Linked DNA regions of Homo sapiens: region 2 is linked to region 1. The links are contacts of gene promoters, found by promoter capture Hi-C in blood cells and fetal thymus (Javierre and others, 2016). All regions are on one chromosome and are shown on one strand. The core of a region is centred on a gene start or on the middle of the fragment in contact, and the rest is flanking DNA. Distances in the headings are between cores, read along the strand shown. Region 1 holds the start of PLCG1 (phospholipase C gamma 1). Region 2 has its middle 10 kb from the start of CHD6.

Region 1 (7,307 bases), core at 4,808-7,307:
GACATTTGCATCTCTAAAAAGTTTATATTTTAGTTGCAAAAAAAAAACAACCCACAAAACAACTTGGAGTGACCCTATGATGAAAATGAGTGTTTGCCTTGTATCTGGAGTGGCCATCTCTTTCAGGCATATACAGTCTCTCACTTTGCTCTATCTCCACAGACACTAACAGGTTTCAGTAAAGCCAAGTGTCCCTTCTCAGTGCTCCAATGGCCCCCATCACACTGAATTGTCATGGTCTGTTGGCATTTCTGTACCCACTGCTGGAGTGGGAACTTGTTCTGACTCAGCTGTGCTGTCTTAGTGCTCTAGAGGATGCATCCGTGAAGCGTGTTGCAAGGAGGAGAGAGAAAAACAGAAAAGTGCAGGTCTGCCCTGGCCTGGGCTTTCCCCTTCTCTTCCTTTATTGCCATATGTTGCCTCAGTGATGCAGTCACAGTGTCCCTGCCACCTTTCAGAAGAAGATACATCTGCAGCCCAGCTGGAGAACCTCAACATCTGGGTCCCACTATGGGGGCCAATCAGCAGAGATACACCAAGGTCAATGGAGACAGCAGTCCCTGGGAGCAGCCGAGCCAGGTGTGATTTTGCCTTGAGAGAGAACACGAGGCTCTTGAGGGACAGATAACACAACCCAGGTGAGGAGGAAAGCAGGTGGACATGACCTAAGAAGTGTGAGGCCTGATGACTAAGTTGGAGCCACAGATAGATTTGGGGGCCAGGGGTCAGGAGCCTAAACAGCAGGTTGTGGGTGGAGTTCAAGGTGCACTGAGGTTAGTTCTTAGCAAGTAGTACTGGCTGTGTGCTGAGGTGCAGGCTGGCTCACAAACCCAGAGGAGGGGCTGTTCAGATGTCTAACACGAGAAACTGAGTAAAAATTAAAGAATGGTTTAGGCCAGGTGCAGTGGCTCACGCCTGTAATCCCTGCACTTTGGGAGGCTGCAGTGGGTGGATCCCCTGAGGTCAGGAGTTCGAGACCAACCTGGCCATCATGATGAAACCCCCGTCTCTACTAAAAATACAAACAATTAGCTGGGCATGGTGGCACGCGCCTGTAATCCCAGCTACTCAGGAGGCTGAGGCAGGAGACTTGCTTGAACCCGGGAGGCAGAGGTTGCAGTGAACCGAGATTGCGCCACTGCACTTCAGCCAGGACGACAAGAGTAAAAAAAAAAAAAAAAAAAAATGGTTTAAAGAAAAAGGACAATGTTTTACACATGGATCAAATTAGACACTGCAAGACTATAAATCTGCACCCTTCTAATGTGAAAAGGGCTTCACTGAGCTATACTTGTATATTATGCCCTCGATATTCACTCAAGGCCATTACAAGGAACAAATGAAAACGGCATCAGCATTTGCTATTAACCAGTTGAGAACATTCTCCACTATTTCAACTAAATAAGTATCCAGGTGAGAAACTTCTTTTATAATTTAACCCCAGAAATTTTTTTTACTCCAAAGAACCAGTTAACAGAATAGAAAGTGTTATTGTTTTGGCTATCAGGAAGCTCAGCCATGTTTAATTCTCAATCACATCAGCTACATTAACCCATAAACCATATTATCGTCCTCCTCCTTATAATCTCATCTCCTATTTCTATATTTTATTCTCTATTTTTAAGTACTCAAAACATTTTTAAAGGGCTGAAAAAGAATACACTTGTGGTAGACATAGCAACGTGCCACCCAGATCCCCTTCAAAGAAGGACTTGTTGACCCAACTATTGGGAGAGCTGTCAGCAGAAAATCTTCAGCTGTCAGCCCCTCGAAGATCATCTTGGCTGCAGAGTGCCATCTGGCCCAGGCTAGGCTCTTCCCAGGACATTACAACTCCTTTCCAGGCTAGTGCCAGACAACAGAGATCCTGGGAGTTGGCTGAGACTGTCATCAGGCCTGCATCTCAGTTTAGTTTTCCCTGTGCCCACTCCTGTTTCTTTCCAGTACCTCCCAGAGTGTTGATCCCAGGGCCACTCCCCAATAAACATACTGCACACTAACCTGTCACAGAGTCCACATCCAAAGAACCCAACCTGTGACAGCACCAAATCAAAAGAGACTCAGGAGGCTGAGGCAGGACTGCTTGAACTCGGGAGGCGGAGATTGCAGTGAGCCAAGATTGTGCCATTGCACGCCAGCCTGGGCGACGAGAGAGAAACTCTGTCTCAAAAAAAAAAAAAAAAAAAGAGAGAAAACATATCAGGTAGGGGTATTTTACAAAGGAGAGAGGATATACAATAAAGTGTTCATACATACATGGGAAGCAAAACAGCACTGACTCTGGGGCCAGACTACCTGGGTTTGAATCCTGCCTTTTAGCTCTGTGCCTCAGTTTTTTCATCTGGAAAATGGGGATAATAAGAGCACTTATAGGGCTGTAATGAGGAAGAAATGAGACAATGTGGATAAAGCAGTTCCATAGTGTTTACTATATGTCAACCACTGTTCTAAGTGGTCATTTAATAAACAGCTGTGAGGCCAAACCCACAGGTCCCGAGGGGCAGTTGGGCTGGGACTCTCCCCAGACTCTGGGCATGGGCACAGGTACAGTGTAGGCCAGGGCATGCTGAAGCATGCATGTTCACAGAAATAGGCCTGAGCAGGGCTAGCATGGGTGACGTCACAGGCGTGTGCTTGTGTGGGTGCTGGGCTGCTCCTCCCAGACAGCGCAGCTGCACGTATTGCCATTCACACCCACGCACCCATATATATGCTGAGCTGGGGGAAGCCCACACAGACCACACCCTCTGCATGCCCTGTTTTTCCTGCACCTCCTTTGGTGGAAGGAGGCACCTGAGGCCTGGGATGCTGGCCCAGAAGTCCCAGGAGGAAATGGGTCCTGTTCCCTGATTACAGGCCTGGCAACGGGCTGAAAACTCAAGCTCTTGTTGGCAGGGATTTCTTGAGCCCCTAGAGGTCCAGACCCAGAGGCAAAAGTAAAAGCAAGGAAGCCTTACCCTGCATGTTAGGAAGCTCCCAAAAAAATGGAGAAACGGATGTAAAAAGTGCATCAGAGCCCACAGGCTGCCGGAGTCAGCACAGTAAGCTCAATGAGGGCTGCAGCACTTAAGAGGGTGCCTCCTGTACAAAACAGGATCAGACAGCCAGAGAGGGGCCCCATTCAGCCCCCGTCTGCCTTCCTGGTCTCATCACTCCCTGTCCCCTCCTCAGTCAGGAAACTCTAGCTTTGTAACCCTAAATTCAACAACCTCTTCCTGGCCTCAGGGCCTTTGTACATGCTGTTACCTCTACTTGGAATGTACTTTTCTCCAACCCACCTTTAATAATTCACCTCGCCATCGACTCACTTCCTTTAGACCTCTGCTGAGGTCTGAAGAGATCTCGACCCAATGTTTTTCCTTCTAGCCCTCATCATAATTGTCTTTATGTAACAGAGTGTTTATTTAATGTCTGAACTCCCAGAGAGCTGGCGCTGTGTCTCTCTTGTGCTCCTCATGTTGTCAATGCCCAACACAGAGAAGAGCAGGGTCCACAGAACTTCAAGCCTAAGCCAGTTCAAGCCACACTCTGTGAGCACTCACGTTCTGCTGGATTCCCTGTGCCCAAGGCCAGCGGTGAGCATGCCTCCCCTCACCCATGCTGATTAACCAGATAGCCTCCATGCCCACTGACTACTGACCACCAGGACTTACCTAAGCCAGTGGATCTCCTGTGAGGCAGAAAACTCATGGAGTCAGGCCGACTTGGGTTCTAGTTCCCACCTAGTCATGTTATGTGGCTTTGGGGCAAATTGTAGAACTTCTCTGAATCTCTGTTTCCTCATCAGTAAATTGTGGACCATCATTCCTGATTAGAAGATAATTATGAGGATCAGGTGTGACCACAGGTGCACACCTTCAGCACAGGGTCTACGCTAGCTCCGTCCCGCCCACGTAAAGACCTGCCACTAGGTGGCAGTCCATCTCAGCTACCCCACCGCTCCTTACTCCACAGAGGCTGGCTAGGACAAAGGGTCTCAATGTCATGCTGAATTCTGAGCTTCTTAGGGGACGCACTTGAGGAAATCAACGTTAACACACAAGTTTCCACTACAGCAAGACAAAGTCAGAAGCAGCAGCCCCAGGTCACTATCCAGCTGAGTGGGTTGCCTGAGCACACGCTCTTACAAACTCTAGTCTAGTCCTACTATCTCACAATTCCCAGGAAGCCTGGCTCTTTCTCTGGCATCAGCTGGAAGCTCTGTTGGGCTTCTCACCTCTGAAATGCAGTAAGTTGTCCTGCTGTGCCTGGCAGCCGACCCACTGCCTGGCTCAACATGTCAGACAGGCTCCACCGCGACCGTGGGTGTCCTCAATTTTGGCGGTGCTGACAAGGGTAGATAGATTGCAGGGGTGAGTTTCAAGAATGGCTTCAGAAAGACAAAGAGTATGAATTATATTCCATAACCAGAAAAAGGCCTTGTGGCTGGAGAATGGAGAGTGAAGGATCACTTGTGAGAGATGAAACTGGTGAGATGGGCAGGTCATATAGAACCTGCTAGGCCAAGCAGGGAGTGTGGATTTTAGGTGCAATGGGAATTCACGGAGGGTTTTAGCCTGGATGTAGGGGATCATGATTTAATTTCATTTTAAAGATTTAAAGCATGATAAATCCAGGCAAAACCAAACTGATAGATCCAGGCAAAACCAAACAAGGTGAGTAGTCTGGGTGACAGGAGATGGGGCCTTCAGCTTGTGGGCTGAGTGACAAGGTCTTGATGGATTGGAGGTGAGGCAAAGGGAGGAATCAAAGTTAGCTGCAAGGTTTTTGACCTTCCAACTTAGAGAAGTTTAGCGCCGCGTTCTGAGAAAGTGAAGACTGTGGAAGGAATCGTTTGGGGAGGGAAGGCGAGCTGTCTAAGGGGGGGGGATGTGGAACATGCAGTGGGATGCTGGGGCCTGGAACGTAGGGGAGATGCAGGTTTGGAGTCACCGGTGCCTGTGTTGTTGGGCAAAGCCAGGGGAAAGGTCAGGTCGCCTTGGGATCTGGCCTAGCACTGAGTGCAGAGGAAGAGAAGCTTCTGAGATCGAGAGGCAGCGGCTACAGGAGGAGGAAGAAAGCAAGGCGGGGAAAACCAAAGTTCAGGAGAGCATTTGCAGGAGGGCGCTGCGGGGTAGGGTCTGAGTCGGAGCCCCGAATCGGACTCGAGTCCTGTCGCGTGGGGACGGAGCGTGCAGAGGCCCATGCGAGGGACAGACACAAAGGCCCTGGGAGCTGCAGGTCAGACCACTGGACAGCGCGGCCGCGGACCTAACGCCCCTGTAAGGGGTGCTCACGCTTGGGGGGAACTCTCCGAAAGAGAGGACCACTGAAAGCCACCCTGGCAGCAGGGGCGGAACAGACAGACGTGGGTCTGGCCGTCGCCAGAACTGCCTGCGGACCAGCCCCGCGCTGCCGGGGGGGCGGGACATGTCGGCTGTCCATCAGTGCCCGCGACCAATCCGCAGGCAGCCCCGCCCCCGCCCCTCCCGGGAGAGGGCGCGCGGAGGACCCGCCGCCGCCGGTGTGAGGCGGCCCGTCCTGGCTCCCTTGTCCGGGAAGCCCGCCCAGGTAACTGAGTTTGGCCGGGCATTCCCGGAGGACGCGCCATCCCCTCACGTCCCGTCCCGGTCGCTGCATGGGCGGTGTTCGGGACGCGGGGGCTGCGTCTGTGCGGGACCGCGGGGTAGCGGCCGCCCGTGCGAGTACGCCTGACTGACGCGCCGGCCGCCGGGCCTGCGGCCTGTGGGCGGGGCTGCCGTGCGTGACAGGGCCGCTCGTGGCCGCCGGGCTGTGTCCGGGGCCGCGTGAGAAAGCTCTGCGGGACTGAGGGCTGGGTGGGTCGACCGGGAACGGCGCGCGCTCCCGCCGCCATCGCGCCTCCGTCCCCGCCTGCGGCCTGTCTGGGGGTCGCGGGGCGCAGGCGCGGCGGGCCGACGGGCGGGGGTCCTCCCCACGGGTGCGCGGGCGCCTTTGTTCCCGGCGCCGAAGCGGGGTGGGGCCTCAGGGCAGCCCCGCCCCGCCGCGCTGAGGCCCCGCCCCGTGTCCGCCTGCAGGAGCCGCCGCCGGGTCCCGCTCGTCTGCCGCCTCAGCCTCAGCCCCAACCTCAGCCGCCGCCGTTGCGCTTGCTCCCGGGCGGTCCTGGCCTGTGCCGCCGCCGCCCCCAGCGTCGGAGCCATGGCGGGCGCCGCGTCCCCTTGCGCCAACGGCTGCGGGCCCGGCGCGCCCTCGGACGCCGAGGTGCTGCACCTCTGCCGCAGCCTCGAGGTGGGCACCGTCATGACTTTGTTCTACTCCAAGAAGTCGCAGCGACCCGAGCGGAAGACCTTCCAGGTCAAGCTGGAGACGCGCCAGATCACGTGGAGCCGGGGCGCCGACAAGATCGAGGGGGCCAGTAAGTGCGCCCACTTCCTGCCTGGGCCCGCCCCGCGCGGGGGTCGTGGGAGCCCGGCCCGACTGCTTGCACCCCGGCCGGCCGCCCCAGCGACTTGGGCAAACTTTCGGGCCCTCCCAGACTCCCTCCGGGCCCCGCCCCCGCTTCGTCTCGGGTGGTCACTGGGGGCGGGGGGCATCCGGGTCCTCGGTCACCTGACAGGACACCCCCCCTCCCCCAGCTGGGGGGAGTGTTCCAGGCGCTTTGCCCTGAGGCCTAAAAATCCTCGCGGGCTGGAGACCTGCGGTGCAGGCATCGGGCCCCCCAGACCCTGGGAGTGGTGGCGGCGTCGGCGAGGGGAGCTAAGGCAGTGGCCCCCACCCTGCACGGGAACCTGGGGCCTGACCAGACGGTCCCCGCCCACTCTTTATCCAGAAAGAGCAGTCTGTGAAACTCTCCGGGCCCCCAGGCTGGGCTCTTATTTGCAAAGGAATCTTTGGGTTCCCTAAGTAGAACTTAGGCAGATGTTGGGTAGGGCTGGTCTTGGAGCAGAGCTGGGCCTACTCATCTCCCTCTGGGGGAGAGGGAGGAAGGTGGTCTTGTTTGGTTTGGAGAAGCCTGAGAGAAGCCAGTGGCTGGAATTTTTTTTTTTTTTTTTCTGCTACTTTTGTCCCAAAGCTGGGTTTTGGAGGCCTATGTGGGTGGGCAGACACTCAATGCCAGGGCAGGGACTCCCCTTGCCCTGGGAAGCACGTTCCCAGGAGATGGGCCCCATAAAGGCCTGCCCCAGCGCCTTGGAGTCAGGTATTCTTCTCAGGAGTGCAGCTAGTTTGTGAGTCTAGCCCTTTGTCCTCTGTCCGGTGGCTTCAGGGAGCGGGAGCGGCTTCTCTTAGTTTCCTGCCTTTTCGCCTTCCCAGGCCTGAGCTTGGCTGCTTTTGCGCTGGTCTCTAGTGGG
Region 2 (6,602 bases), core at 759-3,258, 490 kb after region 1:
GGCCCATCTCTTATATTATTTTCTGTATGTTTGAAATATTTCATGATTAAACATCTTAAAAATATCCTTTTTAGTTCCCTTGAGAATTGTACCTGCCAAGCAGCCCAGCCTGTCTTGTCAGACCCTGACCTTGTTCTCTCTCTGTGGGAAGAGGAGACATGATCAGAAGGTGATTTCTGGAACCTGGAACTGAGGGGATGATGCTAATAGCCAGTATTCTGGAACTACACTGGTCCAATCCCTGTATCTCTACTGTAGGGGTGAATCTGCCACAAGGCATCCTCCTGCCAGAAGCTCCATTCTCCAGCACAAAGCTGGATAAGACTAGTTAAGCCCACAGGCTTTGAAGCCCTACAGATGTGGTTCAAATCTCAGCTCTACCACTAGTGTCCTTAAGAAAGTCACTTAACAGGCCAGGCATGGTGGCTCATGCCTGTAATCACAGCACTTTAGGAGGCTGAGGTGGGTGGAACACCCGAGGTCAGGAGTTTGAGACCAGCCTGGCCAACATGGTGAAACCCTGTCTCTACTAAAAATGGAAAAATTAGCTGGGCTTGGTGGCACACACCACTGTAATCCCAGCTACTCAGGAGGCTGAGGCAGGAGAATTGCTTGAACCTGCGAGATGGAGGTTGCAGTGAGCCAAGATTGTGCCACTGCATGCCAACCTGGGTGACAGAGTGAGACTCCATCTCAAAAAAAAGAAAAAAAAAGAAAGTCACTTAACTTACAGTTTCATGATTCCAATAATAGGGTTGTTGTGTGGATTAAATGATTCATGCAAAGTGCTTTGCACATGGCAACTGCTCAACAAATTGGTTATTAATATATAATTATCGCAGCCTTTCCTCTGCCTCCCATTTCCCCGTGTTCTGTATAGACTTTCCCCCTTTGTCGACCTGCAGGTTTTGAAACATATTAATTCCATTGATTTAACTGAAGTCAATCTCTGTTCTTGTGTTTGGCTTGGGGAACCTTCTGTCTTTTGGAGTGCCTTCTACTGATATATGGCCTCTACCCCTCATGTATTAATCTCACTGATTTAACTCTTACAGTGCCACAGAGCTCTCACTCTCACCCATGTATAGCACTACCGCTATTTTGATTTTTTAAATCCAAGGTTATATATAAAAATGACTGTGGTCCCTTTCAGTTACTATGATTTATGGAAAATCACACCTCAAATGTTCTTGGGCAGGATTTTTCAAAAACGCTGGTCACGCTACCCTGAAACAGCTTCGTAAATCCTTCATTCTTGCTCAGCAGTGTACTTTCCTGCAATGACCATTAGACAGTTTCAGCCATAAAAACTTGCTTAAGGCCGGGCGCTGTGGCTCATGCCTGTAATCCCAGCACTTTGGGAGGCCAAGGCGGGTGGATCACTTGAGGTCAGGAGTTCGAGACCAGCCTGGCCAACATGGTGAAACCCTGTCTCTACTAAAAATACAAAAATTAGCTGGGCATGGTGGTGTGCGCCTGTAACCCCAGCTGCTTGGGAGGCTGAGGCAGGAGAATCACCTAAACCTGGGAGGCGGAGGTTGCAGTGAGCTGAGATAGCACCATTGCACTCCAACCTGGGCAATAGAGCAACGCTCTGTCTCCAAAAACAAACAAACAAACAAACAAAAAAAAAAAAAAACAAAAAAAACCACAGCAACAAAAAAGTTCTTAAGCTTTTTACTAAGCCTCAAGTTGCTGTAGAATCCTTTTCTTTATGTGTGCAATTCTACCATCAACATTACTGACCAATTTGGTGAGGCTACCGTCTGAAAACTGGTAATAAAAATAAGCAACACAGTTTTACATACTAGAAACAAAAAACTATAGTTTTAAAAAATTAATTAGTTTCCATGTTTTTGCTGAGGTGAAGCATGGTAACTGTCCTTCCAGTTGGCCCCCAGTGATACTCACTTGCTGTGATTCAAACCCTTATACTGCCCTCTCCTGTACTGAATAGACCTGATTTATGTATGTAACCAGTAGGATATTGCAGAAGTGACAGAGTGTAACTTCCAATGCTAGTCATAAATGGCATTGCAGCATCTGTCTTGCTGTTTTGGGTAATTTGCAATGGGAAGAGTCCATTGTCATGACATGAGGACATTCAGTCAGCCTTATGGAAAAAGTCTTTGTGGCAAGAACTCAAGGCCTCTTGTCAGGAACCATGTGAATGGGCCATCTTGGAAGTAGATCCTCCATGCCTAGTCAAGCCTTCAGATGAGACTGCATCCATCCCCAGCCAACATTTTGACTGCAACCTCATGAAAACCTAAGTCACTCTCAAATTTCTGACCTATGAAAACTATGTGAGATAATAAATGTTTATTGTTGTTTTTAAGCCACCAAGCTTTGGAGATAATTTGTAATGCAGCAATAGATAACAGTATTTCCTTGGGTGATACAACTGACAGCCATCATTAAGTTACTGTATATTTAAAATGTGCTTTGTATAAATTTGCCCCACATTTTAAGTGTTTTCTTAACATATGATCTACATCCAGATATTTTAGGTTATTCTATGACTCATTTCAGTCCCATTCAGCAAACATGCTGTATTAGTCTGTTCTCACACTGCTATAAAGAACTACCTGAGACTGGGTAATTTAGCAAGAAAAGAGGTTTAATTGACTCACATTACTGCAGGCTGGACAGGAAGCATGATTGGGGAGGCCTCAGGAAACTTACAATCATGGTGGACGGGCAAAGGAGAAACAAGCACATATTCACGTGGCGGCAGGAGAGAGAGAGAGAAAGAGAGAGAAAGAGAAAGGGGAAGTGCTACACACTTTTAAACAACCAGATCTCATGGGAACTCATTCACTATCATGAGAACAAAAAGGAGGAAATCTGCCCCCATGAGTCAATCACCTCCCACCAGGTCCTTCCCCTAACATTGGGAATTACAATTCAACATGAGATTTGGTTGAGGACACAGAGCCAAACCGTATCACTTGCATTGCCTACTTGTATCAAAGCCTGTTCGTAACAGAAAACTCCAGATCAACCATCAGCAATTTGAACGAAACTGATGGCAGTAAGTTGTTTTTCTCCATCCAATTCCATTTATTGTGAATGATTCTTATGCTTTCATGATTGTAGTTAAATCTCTGGATGCCAGGAAGTCCAGCTCCTACCACTTCTTTTGCTTCTTTTTGGAATATATGCCAGAAGGGAATAAAGTTGAAGAGAATGATGCCCCCATGTTACTAAAACATGCACTGTTACATTGACAGTTCATAATAGCTAATTTTATTGCATAATTAATATGAACTAAGCACTGCTTTTAAAATTTTTAAAAATAATTTCAATTTTTATTTTAGATTCAGTGGGTACATGTGCAGGTTTGTTACATGTGAATATTGTGTGATGCTGAGGTTTGGGGTGTGAATGATCCCGTCACCCAGGTGGTAAGTATAGCACACAATAGGAGTTTTTTCAGTCCTTCCCTCCTTCCTCCCTCCCACCACTAGTAGTCCCCAGTGTCTATTGTTCCCATCTTTATGTCCATTTGTACCCAATGCTTAGCTCCCACTTATAAGTGAGAACATTTGGTATTTGGTTTTCTGTTCCTACATTAGTTAGCTTAGGATAATGACCTCCAATTACATCCATGTTGCTGCAAAGGACATGATTTTATTCTTTGTTATGGCTAGATAGTATTCTATGGTGTATATGTACCACATTTCATTATCCAATCCACCATGGATGGCCATCTAGGTTATTCTATGTCTTTGCTCTTGTGAATAGTGCAGTGACGAATGTATGAGTGCACATGTCTTTTTGGTAGGATGACTTATTTTTTGGGGGGTATACACCCAGTAGTAGAATTGCTGGATTGAATGGTAGTTTTGAGTTATTTGAGAAATCTCTAAACTGCTTTCCACAGTGGCTAGACTAATTTACATTCCCACCAACAGTGTATAGGTATTCCCTTTTCTCTGAAGCCTCGCCAGCATCTATTATTTTCTGACTTTCTAATAATAGCCATTCTAAGTGGTGTAAGATGGTATTTCATTGTGGTTTTGATTTGTGTCTTGATGATTAGTGATGTCGAGGTTTTTTTTTAATATATGTTTGTTGGCCACTCATATTTCTTCTTTTGAGAAATCTTTGTTCATGTTCTTTGCCTACTTTCTTTATTTTTTGGAGGCAGGATTTCATTCTTTTGCCTAGGCTGGAGTGCAGTGGTGCGATCATGGCTCACTGCAGCCTCAACCTCCTGGGCTCAAGCAATCTTACATTAGCCTCCCGAGTAGGTAGGACTACAGGCATATGCCACCACATTGTAGTTTTTTGTAGAGATGGGGTTTCACAATGTTGCCTAGGCTGGTCTCAAACTTCTGGGCTTAAGTGATCTGCCTGCCTTGGTCTCCCAAAGTGCTGGGATTATAGGCCTGAGCCACTGTGCCTGGCCCTTTGCCTACTTTTTAATGGGGTTGTTTGTTTTTGCTTTCTTGATTTGTCTAAGTTCCTTACAGATTCTGGATATTAGACCTGTTTTAGATGCATAGTTTGCAAATATTTTCTCCCATTCTGTAGGTTGTCTGTTTACTTTGTTGAAAGTTTGTTTTGCTGTGTGAAAGCTGTTTAGTTTAATTAGGTCCCACTTGTCAATTTTTGTTTTTGTTGTGATTGCTTTTGAGGACCTAATCATAAATTATTTTCCAAGGCCAATGTCCAGAATGGTATGTCCTAGGTATTCTTCTAGGATTTACTTATAGTTTGAGGTTTTACATTTAAATATTTAATCTATCTTGAGTTAATTTTTGTATATGGTTAAAAAGTATGGGTCCAGTTTCATTCTTCTGCTCATGGCTAGCCAGCTATCCCAGCACCATTTATTGAATAGGAAGTCTTTTCCTCATTGCTTATGTTTGTCAGCTTTGTCAAAGATCAGATGGCTGTAGCTGTGTGGCTTTAATTCTGGGTTCTCTATTCTGTTCTGTTGGGCTGTGTGTCTGTTTTTGTACCAGTACCATGTTGTTTTGGTTACTGTAGCCTTATGGTATAGCTTAATATTGGGTAATGTGATGCCTCTGGCTTTGTTCCAAGCACTGTTTTAAATGCTTTACATGTATAAAATATTTAATTCTTACAAAGAAAAAGTTATTACCCTCATTTTACAAATAGTAAAACTGAGGCACATCACTGGAAGGAAGGCTGCAGAGTCTAGAGCTATCACCATCTCTGTCTGTCAGCCACAAGCCCAGGTGCCAAAGTGCAGCAGTAGCTGCCACACAAATAGCAGTTCAGTCCAGTGTCCTAGCTTTCCTAGGCTCCCGCTCTAGGTATCACAAGCAAAAACAAGGCTAGGATTTGACAGAAGGAAAAGTGAAAAGAAAGCACCAACAAAGCATACAAACAAAAACATTTACAGAACACAGATGCTGTGATGGTTAATGTTATATGTCAACTTGACTGGGCTAAGGGACGCACAGATAGCTGGAGAAACATTTCTGGGTGTGTCTCTGAGGATGTTCCCAGGATAAATTAGCATCTGAATCAGTAGACTTAATAAAGAAGATTGCCCTCACCAATGTTAGTGGGCATCGTCTGTTGAGGGCCCAAAGAGAATAAAAATATGGAAGAAGAGTAAATTCCCCCTCTCCTTGAACTGGGACATTGGAGTTCCTGGTTCTCAGGCTTTGGATTCTGAAAACTACACCTGCACTCCCCTCACCTCTACTCTCTGTTCTCAGGCCTTCAAGCTTGAACTAGGAATTATATCATAAGATCTCCTGGTTCTCAGGCCTTTGGACTCATACTGAATCAAACCTCTGGATTTCCTGGTTCTACAGCTTGCAGATGGCAGATAGTGGAAATATTCAGCCTCCATAATCATGTGAGCCAATTCCCATAATAAATCTTCTTGTGTGTGTATGTGTGTGTGTGTGCATGTGTGCATGCTTGTGTGTGTCCTTTTGGTTCTATTCTCTGGAGAACCCTAATTCAGATGTCTTATAGTAATTTTAAAAGATGACGCCAGGCGTGGTGGCTCACGCCTATAATCCCAGCACTTTGGGAGGCCGAGGTGGGCGGATCACCTGGGGTCAGGAGTTTGAGACCAGCCCGGCCAACATGCCAAAACCCCGTCTCTACTAAAAATACAAAATTTAGCCTGATGTGGTGGCGGGCGCCTGTAATTCCAGCTACTCAGGAGGCTGAGGCAGGAGAATTGCTTGAACCCGGGAGGCAGAGGTTGCAGTGAGCCGAGATTGTGCCAGTGCACCCCAGCCTGGGCGACAAGAGTGAAAATCCGTCTCAAAAAAAAAAAAAAAAAAAAAGAACAGGACCGGGCAGGCACGATGGCTCACACCTGTAATCCCAGCATTTTGGGAGGTGGAGGTGGGTGGATCACCTGAGGTCAGGAGTTCGAGACCAGCCTGGCCAACATGGTGAAACCCCATCTCTACTAAAAATACAAAAAAATTAGCCAGGCATGGTGGCAGGTGCCTGTAATCCCAGCTACTCAGGAGGCTGAGGCAGGAGAATCGTTTGAACCTGGGAGGTGGAGGTTGCGGTGAGCCAAGATCGCGTCAATGCACTTCAACCTGGGTGACAGAGTGAGACTCCGTGTCAAAAAAAAAAAAAAAAAAAAAAGG

The links. Contacts are between HindIII fragments. The CHiCAGO score rates a contact against its expected background, and 5 or more counts as called.
Region 2: a contact is called between a fragment that was not itself captured here and the fragment with the promoter of PLCG1 in region 1, in 3 of 17 cell types (naive CD4 T cells, activated CD4 T cells and total B cells). The highest score is 8.6, in naive CD4 T cells.

The regions. Positions count from the first base shown.
Region 1 is chr20:41,131,486-41,138,792 of GRCh38, forward strand. PLCG1 (phospholipase C gamma 1) reads left to right here and starts at 6,058. Exons shown (of 32, transcript NM_002660.3): 1 at 6,058-6,373. The coding sequence starts at 6,157. LOC124904903 (translation initiation factor IF-2-like) reads right to left here and starts at 6,028. Exons shown (of 2, transcript XM_047440629.1): 1 at 4,217-6,028; 2 at 2,358-3,807. The coding sequence starts at 5,854. The coding sequence ends at 5,273. PLCG1-AS1 (PLCG1 antisense RNA 1) reads right to left here and starts at 6,515. Exons shown (of 7, transcript NR_109889.1): 1 at 6,229-6,515; 2 at 4,217-4,326; 3 at 3,654-3,807; 4 at 2,002-2,160. RefSeq lists silencers at 600-649, 5,328-6,317, 6,438-6,697 and enhancers at 2,513-2,692, 4,573-5,357, 6,142-6,926, 6,848-6,947, 7,096-7,175 and 1 more. The HindIII fragment of the contact is 8,103 bases long and covers 5,016-7,307 here.
Region 2 is chr20:41,625,259-41,631,860 of GRCh38, forward strand. No RefSeq gene overlaps it. Among named protein-coding and RNA genes, the nearest start is that of CHD6, 10 kb to the left of the region's middle. The HindIII fragment of the contact is 674 bases long and covers 1,672-2,345 here.